Linked DNA regions of Homo sapiens: region 1 is linked to region 2. Evidence: promoter capture Hi-C in human tissues and cell types (Jung and others, 2019). All regions are on one chromosome and are shown on one strand. The core of a region is centred on a gene start or on the middle of the fragment in contact, and the rest is flanking DNA. Distances in the headings are between cores, read along the strand shown.

Evidence for each region. Contacts are between HindIII fragments. The study calls those that stand out against the background at their distance.
Region 1: a fragment that was not itself captured here is called in contact with the fragment with the promoter of PDZD2 in region 2 in 2 of the 25 tissues and cell types used here (dorsolateral prefrontal cortex and pancreas).

What each region holds. Positions count from the first base shown.
Region 1 is chr5:31,680,372-31,686,420 of GRCh38, forward strand. The region is part of intron 1 of PDZD2 (PDZ domain containing 2); the gene reads left to right. Among named protein-coding and RNA genes, the nearest start is that of PDZD2, 44 kb to the left of the region's middle. RefSeq lists enhancers at 1-373, 374-891. The HindIII fragment of the contact is 4,329 bases long and covers 873-5,201 here.
Region 2 is chr5:31,636,943-31,642,867 of GRCh38, forward strand. It overlaps PDZD2 (PDZ domain containing 2), which reads left to right and starts at 2,189. Exons shown (of 25, transcript NM_178140.4): 1 at 2,189-2,495. RefSeq lists a silencer at 2,143-2,492. The HindIII fragment of the contact is 21,895 bases long and covers 1-5,925 here.

The sequences.
Region 1 (6,049 bases), core at 1,787-4,286, 44 kb after region 2:
ATCTATCTGATCAGAGAGGAAATTAGAAGGGTTCTGGGCTCAAATAAAATTTCCGAGACCAACTGCTAATGAGAGGTGAGGATGGCTGGCTGTGGGATTCAGCCTCCTAAGATTTGAGGAGGAACTTCGCACTTGGGAAGCCAATTTAAAAAAAAAATACTCCTCATTTATGCCAGCCTCAGGAAGCTAAGTCTTCCTCTGCTGCCTTGAGGGGCTGGAATCGACCTGCATGTGGCTCCCGTTTCTGTGGCCAGACCCTGGTGGTGAACACATTTCAGGCAGCCAGAAACAGGCTTGTTGTGGCTCTGCAGCCAGACCTGCCAGCCTTCTCGTCAGGACGTGCGAGCTTAATTATTCCACTGCCCTCTGGAAATGATGCCGGCTTGTCCTTGAAATCCCTGACCGGGCGCCAGGCCCTGCTGGATTTGTAGATGCTTCCTGTTGTGGGTGCACGGAACCTCTGCCCAGCCCAGCAGCTTTTTCCCTGCAGCTCTGAGAGATGCCTGCCCCACAGCAACGGCCGCAGATCTAGCTTGTGCTTCCCTATACGGCCTTGCCCCTCGGACAATTGCTGACTGTGGACACCCATTCTGGGGACTGGCCAGATCTGAATTCCTTCCCAAGATCCCCCCACCTACCCCCACCCAACTTTCTTGTCCTCAAGTCAACACCTGTAAAATAATTCCCACCATATATGCAAATAATTTTGCTTTTTCCATGAATGGAGACCATTGCCAGATATCACTAAATGCTTCTGAATATGGGGCTGCAACTTGGATGGAAAATTACTGTTTTTTTCTTTCAACATGTAATGAACATTAAAGGCTTATGACTGTTGATTCATCAATACTTATAACATGTTTTATTTGTTTTTGTTTTTACTTTGTTTTGTTGAGACAGAGTCTCACCTTGTTGTCCTGGCTGGAGTCCAGTGGCACAATCTCGGCTCACTGCAACCCCCGCCTCCCAGGTTCAAGCAATTCTCATGCCTCAGCTTCCCGAGCAGCTGGGATTACAGGCATGTGTCACCATACCCAGCTAATTCTTTGTATTTTTAGTAGAGACGAGGTTTCGCCATGTTGGTCTGGCTGGTCTTGAACTCCTGACCTCAAGTAATCCACCAACCTCGGCCTCTCAAAGTGCTAGGATTACAGGCGTGAGCCTATACATATGTATAGGTTCCTCATATACATATACACATTATATATGTATAATATAATATATATAATATGTGCGTATGTGTCTATGTCTATCTTCCTGTCAACACCTCTCCTACCATATTGGATCACAAAATGCTATGTGGAAGAGTTTTCGAAACTATAAAACTTCTCAAAAGTTAGTTCTTATAATAAAAAGTTTACCTTAAGACAAGTTAAATGAGAGTTTGAAGATACTGACAAGCTGATTTTAGCAACTGTGTTTGCTCTCAGGGCATGTGATGCTTTTGGTGACCATAGAGACTCCATTTAAATACCCCCAGCTCCCTTGAGCTAGTTTCTCCTAAGAAAGGAATAATACGTTTAAAAGAAGGAATGCTGGAGAGGAGTTTACTCCAACTAAATATATTGTAGTGGCATAGCTTAGATTCCTTACCAGAAGCGGAAAATGCATAGTATAGGACCAAAAGAGGGCTGTAATTTTTTTTGGAACATCGCATTCTTTCTTCTCCCTAAGACGCATAGATAGATATAATTATATGATTGGAAAATTAGACCCAAGTGGCGAGTTTAAAGGAACTGGGGCTGGTTAAACTAGAGGCGAGAGCGAGGGTAGCAATGATGGTCTGAAGCAGCTGCTGTGTGTTTCCTGGAGGACCCACGGGGAGGGGGAGAGCTACTACACAAGCTTCGCAGAGGGGCTTAGGCAGGGGTCAGTGTTTGAATTGGACACTCTCGTGTCTGTGGTCTGTTTTAAGTTTGGGTGTGCAAGGCCAATATGAACAGTTTTCTTTCTTTCAAGTCCGTGGTTAGGGCAAACTGTCCCCCGGGAGAATGTCGGTGCCTTAGTTGATAGCTTTGTGTTTCCGGAAGCCTGGCTTCCAATAAAGGTGGTTAATTGGGAGAAGTGGAATGGTACATTCTTGCTTTCCAATTAAGAACAAGGCTTCATTACAACAAATAAGGCCAGCACAATCCAATACTATTAACTTTGTATTTAAATAAGAGTGTAATTTTAAAGGTTAAAGAAATGTGAAAATAAGCACTAATCCCCATTTAAAGTTCTTAATAATGGTTTAATTGAACTCTGTTAATTTTCTCCTCCAAGATTAAATAGAACTAGCGCATTCTCAGTCTTTCGGCTGTGTGTGTGTGTGTGTGTGTGTGTGTGTGTGTGTGTGTGTGTGTGTGTACATGGTTTACACATTTTGGGATTTCAGGACAGCTAACCCTCAAAAGCCCTGCAGGTGAATTTTTACGTAGACCAAGACGCTCCATTTCCACCACAAGCTACCTTGTACCTTTTGTATCCTCCACCCCTCCCTTTCCCCTGACTTTCCAGCCATAAGCTTACGCAGAAAGACCCCTTCTCCCGATCATGGGGAGTGTGCACACCAGCTGTGTGAACCCCGTGACACTCTCACCGCCCCCAAGTCAGATGGGAGTCATTTTTCTCTGGACCTGACCAGTACTCTGACTTTATCTCTTTGAGGCCATCTCCCCCTGACCCCTGCCATCTGGTGTTTGCTAGTAATTTGCATTCGGCCCTTAAGTTTTGCTCATTAAACACCCTCCTTGGCAGCTCTGTGGCTCCCCTGCAACTTTTACAGCTTGGCTTTGGGTACAGGCTGCTTCCAACAGAGCCTGAAGGTACAAAATCTCAGTGAGATCAGAATGTTAAAAAAAAAAAAAAAAAAGAAAGAAAGAAAAGAAAACGAATTAGAAAAGAAGGTCATAAGATTGTCCTGTAGATTTAAAGTGATTTGTCCACAGTCTTAGTGGGGATGTGGGATCATATTCTTTGAAGTTTTATTTTCTAGTAATATTTGTAAGGGTGCTTTAAAAAAATACATTCCAAGAAGTATAAAGAAAACAAAAAGGTGACCCATAATTTCACCGTTCAAATAGTCCCTACTGGTTTTTTTAAATGGAAAATATGTACATGGTTACAAAATTCAAACTACTTTGGGAATGATAAAAGATGAAAATCAAAAGACTTTGTACATGGACACTCATACATTTACATAGAAGGATAATAAAGCACAAGAAGTTCTGTTTGCTAATTTTTCACATAACGTGCCTGGGAGATAGTTTGATATCAGCTCATAAAGGTTTCCTGCATTTTTTGTATCCTCTGCAAAGTAGTCTGTCTTATGGACGTTTGATAATTTATTTAACCAGTCTGCTGTTGAGGCAGGCTTTGCTTGTTTCTAATTTTTTACTGCAAAGAGTCTGCAGCGGACATCCTTGTACCTACATCCCAGGAAATTCTCGTATGTATATCTGTTGAATAAATTAATCCAAGTAGTAGGATTACTGGAACAAAGTCAATATGTATTTTAAATTTGATACCCAGTGCCATATTGTCCCTAAGAAAGGTTGCACAAATTTACACTCCCACCAAGAGTGTGGGAGAGCCATTTGCCACATAGACTCACCAGTATTTTTTTTTTAATTTTTGATCCATTTGGAAGTTATTTGGGAACTTGAGTGTTTTTCCCCAAAAGCAAAGGCAATTGCCTCAACACCAGTTATCAAAGGATCCCTACAGATCTATTTTCCCTGTAGATCTGAAATGCTGTCTTCATTGTATCTTTTGCTGATGCCCCCGTACAAATTTACAGGTGAGCTCCATCCTCCTGTAGCAGCCACCTGCCTACTGACAGTCCTACTTGGGTGTCTGATAGGTGTCTCAAGTGATGGATGGATATGACAGTAGAGTCCTTGATTTACTGTCCCATGGCCCCTGCTCATCTTCTCTTTCTTGATTGATGGTGCCATCATCTACCCAGTTACTTTGACCAAAGCAATGGGAGTCATCCTGGATTCCTTTCTTTTTCTCCACTTCTAAGCCATCAGTATACTGGCACTGTGTTAAAGCCATATTTCAAACCAGACCACTTGTCACCATTCCTGTCACTTCTACCTCTTTTATCCCAACATCACCTCTTGGGTAGACCATTGCAAACTGGAAGTGCATTTCCAGAATATTCTTGTTGGTATAGAACCCTCTGTCTACATAGTAGCTAGAGCAGTTTTTTTTTTTTTTAGATGTTAAACAGATACATCGCTCTGCAAACTAAAACCCTTTAAAGTGTTTTCCATCTCAATTAGAATAGAATTCATAGTCCTCACCAGCCACTGCAAGGTTTATATAATCTAGCCCCTGCCTATCTTCCTTGCCTCTTCTCTGTTACCCACAACCTGCTTTTTGTTTCGTGATGTGTGAACTCATTTCAACCTTAGGGTCTTGCTCTTGCCTCTTCCTTTGCCTAGAATGCTTTTCCCTTGTCCTAGATCATCTGTGTTATGCTAGTTTTTAGGTCTCAACTCATGTCACCCCCGTTGCCCTTTATCTCATTGTCTTGCTTTATTTTCTCTAAAACACTTGGCACTATGTAGATGTTCTTATTTATTTACTTATTTAAGGGTAGAATCTTTATCTGTTTTGCTTGGTGCCAATTATTCAACATGTTGAATAGTGCCTGGCACCTAGCAGGCACTGGAGCCTATTTCTGGAATTTCATGTTGCACCATTGCCCTCTCTGTTTGTTCTCCATTACTAAATTCCTTTCATTATTGTAGCTTTATAAGTTTCAATGCTTGTAAGAGCAGGCGTTCTCTGCCCTACCCGCTTGACCCCCTTCTCTTTCCTAATTTTGCTGGCTATTATGGTTATTTTTCCAGAGGAGCTTTCTAAAAATACTCCTTGTTGGTATTTTAATTGGGTTTACATTGAGTTTATAGATTAATTTGAAGTAAAAAAAAAATCATTGAACCTTTTTATTTAAAAGCAAGCTAGACTTTTCTCTTAACATTTTCTTCCAGTTCCTCAACAGGTTTTTTAAAAGAACTTTGTAATATGGAAAACTGAGAACATACACAAAAGTTGTGAAAAGAGTAAAATGAACCTTCTTGTATCTATCACACAGCTTCTACACCATCAGCCCATGCTGCCTCGTCCGCATGCATACCCACTACCCTTCGCATTTATTTTATTATTATTATTTTTTGAGACAGGGTCTTACTCTGTCGCCCAGGCTGGAGTGCAATGGTGTTTTCTCAGCTCACTGCAACCTCTGCCTCCTGGGCTGAAGCATTCCTCCCACCTTAGCCTTCCGAGTAGCTGGGACTTCAGATGTGCACCACCATGCCTGGCTAATTTTTGTATTTTTTGTAAAAACGAGGTTTCACCATGTTGCCAAGGCTGGTCTCAAACTCCTGGGATCAAGCAATCCACCTGCCTTGGCTTCCCACAGTGGGATTACAGGTGTGAGTCACCGCACCCAGCCCATATTATTTTCAAACAAATCCCAGACATCGTCATTTATCTGTCAGTGTTTTTACTATGTATTTATGAAAGATGAAGACTTTTAAAAAATAGCCATAAGGTCAGGTGCAGTGGCTCACACCTGTAATCCCAGCACTTTGGGAGGCCAAGGTGGGCGGATCACAGGTCAGGAGTTCGAGATCAGCCTGGCCAACATGGTGAAACCCTGTCTCTAATAAAAATACAAAAATCAGCCAGGTATGGTCCCAGCTACCCTACTACCCTACCCTACTACCCAGGTAGTAGTCCCAGCTACTCGGGAGGCTGAGGCAGGAGAATCACTTGAACCTGGGAGGCAGAGGTTGCAGTGAGCCGAGATTGTGCCACTGTACTCTAGCCTGGGCGACAGAGCGAGTCTCCGTCTCAAAAAAAAAAATAGCCATAATACCATTATAATACAAAAATTTCATATTTCTTCATTGATAGTTTTTAAGTTATTTTCTAATAGGTTAGGCATGTTTCTTATTGAATATCTATATACATATTTTAATATATAAAAAAAGTTTTCTTTTTTTTTTCTTTCTGAGACGGAGTCTCACTCTGTTGCCCAGGCTGGAGGGCA
Region 2 (5,925 bases), core at 939-3,438:
TATCTGGAAAATATCAGCTGAAAAGTGATTGAAACGAAGTATTTAAAGCAGGTCAGCAGGGCCATGTCTGAAGGAGACAGATTATAAAATACATCTGTATATATTGTATTTATACATAATATATGCCACATATAACATACATGTATATACCTAACAATTCATTTTAATTCAGCAAATATTTATTGAGTGGCTATTGGGTCGGACACCATGCCACCCTAGGCTTTGGGAACACAAACAATAAGCTTTAAGTTCTCTTACCTCCAAGAACTCACAAGCTAGAAATATGTGAGACAAAACGCCATAATTCCTACAACATAATACACCTGACAAGGGTTAGATGAGCAATTTGCATAAAGTGCTACCATTGCAGCAATTAACAAGGCAGAGGAAACGTGATGTTTGTTCTGATGATCAGAGAAGCCTTTCCAGTAGAGATGACATTTACCTCCTTGGGATTTCAGCAGACACAGGAGAGTGAGAATGTCACTCTGGCAGAGGAAACAGAATTTACAGATTAGGAGTACATGGCTGGAATGAAAGAGTTGGGGATGGAGTGGATAAGAAATAGCAGTGACTACAGTTTGAGTGATACATTTATTTGCATATTCATTGATTCAGCAAACTTTTCATTGGTGCTGAGGGAGGTAGGCCCAAGGTATGTGCTGGGTACAGAGGCTGAGAAAACACGGGACAGAGTGGTGGAAGATGGGCCTGGGATTGTGGAAAAAACAGAAAGCACCAGCCCTGTTTGATCCTTCTAGAAGGATTTTTTTGTAGTGTCCCAATGATACCTTTCATTGATAATGGTTACCATTTCATTGAGCACCTCCTAAGTGCTGTGCTGAATAGCTGTGTTACTGCTAGTTCCAGCAATCCTGCATGGTAGGTGTTTTCTCTATTTACACATAGGAAGAGAAGCTCTGAGTGCCTGAGTGCCCAGCTTGTCATATACGATGCTTGGATTTGTGCAAGCATTGATCTCAATGGCCTGGTAATTATAAAAGCTGAAGAACAGCTGAAATCAAGAACTTCTCCACCCCAGCCCCTGAGGACAATACCACCTCCAAATGCCTTGGGCCCACTCTGGTCTCTGGTGTGGTGGGACAGCGCTGTCCGGTCTGCGCAGGTGATTTATGTCTGCCTGCTTTTCGGAGAGGCCAGAGTTTATTGCCTTGCTGGGCAGAACTGCAGCTGGGGCCTGCCCTGTCCCATCCCCATCCCCCCGAAAGCAAAGATTTCCAATTACTGTTCTGTAGAAAATGTCAAAAGCATTATTCAACTATTCATTATCCCAGGTTTTGCAATTTTTCATATGTTTTTACTCTTATCTGCCAGCACTTGAAAAAGACCAGCTTTTTCCTCTTAAGAGAGCTTAATTTGCAGAGCTGTGCAGTCTTCCTATTATGTTCTTATCATCCTCTCCCTTTGGTAGGCAGAATGACAAGGATGACAAAAAAAGAACCAAAAATATTTGAAGGCCTTCCTGAAAATCCACCGGAATGAAGGATCCCAAAAGCCTGAGGCTCGGTTCCTCGAGTGACCTGGACGGGAGCCAAGGGCGGCTGGCATTAGCTCTCACAGTCCACTCGGCAGGAGCTCGTGGCTAGTGCTCATGGGACCAAAACCACCACCCCAGGGCCATGGGATTCCCCCCCAGGGGCTTAACTGGGGGATTAAGCAGCTCTGAGGTGCCAAGAGGTCCCCTCTCCCCGAAATCCTCGTACCAGTGCTAAATTACCTTTGGTATCCCAAGGACCAGAGGCTAAGGGTAGCTTGGGGTGAGTGGTTAGCTCTTCCCCCATCTCCTGTGGCCCCTCCGCCCCATTCTTTGATAAGGTAACTGACATTTTTCTCTTTGCTGTGTAAAGTGCTATGCAGAGGCAACTTCACGTCCCCTAGCTCGCTCTGTTCCACCTAGATGGCGCCCTAAGCCCCGCCTGTATGGAGATTCGGAGCAGCCATCTCCCTGGATGCCTTCCTCCCACGATCCCCAGGTTTCTGAAGCGGGCGCACCAGGACTCCTGGCTCACCCAGAGAGACGCCTTGCCCGCGGCGGGGCTCGCTCGGGGAAATCCCCGCCCACCTTGTTATTCCTGCAGGGGAATCCCCGCCCCCCGTCCCTGTCACTCGGGGAAGGGAGTTCCCGCCCCTCGAATCAACCAGGGGGAGGGAATCCCCGCCCATCCTGGAGGCTCGGCGGATCCCCTGCGCAGCGAGGCGAGGAGCGGACCCCAGCGCCGGTGCGTGCCGGCCCCGGGCAGCGGGACGCGGCGGGGCGGCGGCTGCAGGCAGCCGAGGAGCCGCAGGCCGAACCCAAGGCACCGGGATTGCGCCTCCCGCGGCTGCCGGCGAACCGCGGCTCTGCAGCTCGGGGCAGGCGCGGCGGCGGCACCGGTGGTGGCCGCGGTGGCGGCAGCTGCGCGGGGACCCGCCGGGCGGCGCCTGGGTCTGGACGCGCGAGGAAGCCGCGGGAGCCTCGGCCAAGCCGCGAGCAGGTGAAGCGACCGTCCCGCTGCAGCCGGGACGCGCGGCTCCGGGTGGGCAGGGGATGGGGGAGGCCCGGCACCCCCGAGACCGTGTGTGCCCAGGAAAGTTTAGCTACAAATCCGGGTGCGGGAATCCCAGCCCTGGCAGGGCGGGGAGTGAGGACGCCGAACCGGGGTCCCACGTTGGGCGGCGCAAACTCCTCTAGCATCCGGCCGGGGACGGGGAGGGCGCAGCCCAGGGGAGGGGGCTAGACAGAGCGGGACCGAGACAGCGGGACAACCGGAGACGCACTGCCGGGGGTACTCAAGACAGGGCCGGGACCTCCTGCTCGGGCGCGCATCCCGGGTCCCCATCCCTGGGCCGTCTTCTGGTCCCTTCCTCCGACAGGAGTGGAGGTACTCAGGTACTCCGGCCTCAGGTAATGTCTTGGGGACCATCCTCCCTCGGGCTTGTTTCATCTCTCAACCCCCGCCTCTTTGCCCAGATGAGACGTTAGACGCGGGGCGAGGGAATGCAGGGGGCGCGCAAAGATCAAGGGCATCTTAGGGCCGGTTATTGGCGTCTGCCGGGGAGATGGGGAACATAGTGATAGGGAAATCCTGCTCTCTCTCTGAAGTCGAGTTTCTCCTAAAATCTGGTTTCTCCCTCCCTCTGTTCCTCTCTCCCTCCCTCGGGTTTGCGTTTGTGTTTTAAGTCTTTGAGCTGCCTGTGGTCCCCGCTATTTGGAAAATCCATTAAAGCGCAAGGCTGAATTCAGCAGCAGGAGGGTCCAGGACCCCTGGCAGGAGTTTGCCAGAAGCTGTCCTCGGCAGCCCAAATCTATGCAGAGACCTTGATAAGGGACACTGGAGTGGGAAGAGGACAAGGTCTGGCATGGGCTGGTCGCAGAGACTGGAATGGCAGGCACGAGGGCATTCCAGAGCTCCAGACCTGCCCTGGGACTGGCCGTTGGGCAGTGTTGGGGGATGGAGCTGAGTCTGAGTCTGTCCCCTGCAGCTGGCCTAACCTCTTGCCTCCACCAAAGGTAGGGTAGGTGGATATGTTTGCCTTGACAAATCGCAATGAAACTACTGGAAGTGGTTGCTGAGTGGCTGCAGTAAGTGATGCCCTGATCTGTCCTTGCAGAGAGACCCCCTGGACCTTCAGGGCCTGTTCTCCAGTGGGGTCTCTGAACACTGGAGGGCTTTAGGGGCCTGGCATCTCTACTGGGCCAGCTTTTGTGGGTTGTGACTTCTGGGTGGTGGCCAGATAGGTACAGGTTGGCAGGTGTGAAGTGGGAGTGCTGCTTGTGGGGGCAGAAGAGAATGTCTCAGAACACACCCCTGGCTGTAGGTGGTGGTTCTGGCTTCATGAATTCCTTCTTCCATTAGGATGGGCCCAGAGCTTCTGCTCCTATAATAACCACCTAGTTGTGTGAGTGAGTGTGTGTGTTGCGGGGGTTAGGTGTAGGAGTAGGGGGGTGGCAGGTGCTAGGAGAGGAAAAATCAGAACCATGTAAAGTATATAAATGTACCTACCTTGACATAGTTAATATGCTCCTGGAAAAATATTGAATTATACTTTAAATCTATCGCTGAAATTGATTTTGCATGTACTTTATGGCAGTTTACTATTTAAGGAAACTTATGATAATTTCTCTGTTCATTTCAATCATTTTATTTTTGGAATACCTGTGGTTTGCTGTGCTGGAGGCTGAGGAGGCTTCGAGGTTCCAGGATATGCTTAGATGAAAGATGCTCCCTCGCTGCTGTCAGTTTGTCAGTTTCTGTCCAGCAGGAGAAGGGAGAGAAGCCTGCTAAGCACTATGGTGCAGACCAGTGCACATGCTGCATGTAGTAGACGCCATGTGTTTATTGGATGAAGGAGTGAAGAGATAATTAAGTGAGTAAAGTACCTGAAGAGTGGTCCAAATAAAACATTTTGGGAGTATGGAGGAAAAAGAAGTCACTTTTGCCAGAGAGGATCTGAAAGGCTTTGTGGAGGAGCTCTTAGGTAGAAGTCGAGAGGTTGATCCTGAGTTAGGACTCAGTGCTAAGGACTCAGAGGAACTAAGGACTCAGAGGAACTAAGGACTCAGAGGAACTTAGTTCTCCAGATAGTAGGGAGATGTGTGAGATATTTTTTTTTTTTGAGACTGGGTCTCATTGTTGCCCAGACTCAAGCAATCCTCCCACCTCAGCCTCCTGAGTAACTGGGATCACAGGTGTGTGTTACCACAACCAGATAATTTTTGTGTTTTTTGTGGAGATGGGTTTCACCATGTTGCTTATGCTGGTCTCGAACTCCTGGGCTCAAGTGATCCTGGTGTCTTGGTCTCCCAACGTGCTGGAATTAGAGGCATGAGTCACTGCGCCCAACCTGGCCCCTCGTTCTGCTCCTACACAACCCTTTAGCACACTCACCATGCTGCCCTGGGTGTGTTTCTTTAGGGCCTTATTTTTTTCATACCCAGATAAGGCCTGGAACAGTTGCTAATCAACTTCCTCAGGTTAGACAGGAAAAGAGGCAGAGGGAACACCCCAGACCCCACTACCCCCGGCTGATCATACTGTAGGGTGTTGTGGAAACCCTCTCCCAGAGGCTCCAGGCCTGGTGAGCTGAACAAGATAACACAGAGCTGTGGATACCCCCTTGCCTTTGATCATGTGGGCCTAAGTGACTCGGACCATGGTGGTGGGGGCATCTCTGTTGGAAGGTCTCTCCTACTGCACCATCCACAAGGGGACAAATTCCAAAGATGAACCCACAAAAGGTCAGGAGCAAATCCAAAGAGAGGCTGAATCTCTTTAAGAAGACAGACTTAGAGACTCAAGTTTTCAGCTTCTTTCTTCTGCCCTCAGACACATCCCCGCAGCACCAGGGAGGATGCTGAGGTCAGAGTTGAGTTTCAAGGACAGGAAGAGCTATGCAGACAAGCCCATGAGAGAGGTTAGCAGACAAGTGGAGAGGCAGGGATGTCTCAGAGACGCCCATCCCCAGAAGGATGATAGGAAAAGGCCACTGATAGAACAGTGTCTGCAAGGGGTGTTCATGAAGCCAGGCTGCAAGGGAAGAAGGAGACAATGATTGCCAAGACAGTGAAACTGCAGGTATAGACACTGGATCCAGAAGTGTGCTGTTTGAAAATAATCCACAGTATTTTGAGGAGGTTGTAGCATTGAAGGAGGGTTTATTCATGAGAGTCCCTCCATTCTCCCTCCCAGGCATGTTTGGTAAACAAAAGAGATGTGGGAGAGAGTAGAGAAGCTAGATCAGGGGTGTTTGGGCTGGAAGAGGTGAGCAAGTGCAGGGAAAGAACAATCCTGGCATCTGCCTTCTCTGGAAGGCCAGAGGGAAGCAGAGGTTGGTGAGGCCCTGGAGAGAATGAGGAAAACAGGGGAGGCATTTGCTGAGACCTGGGGTCACTTCGTGAAGCTGGGGCCTGGAGGAAAGGGCTGC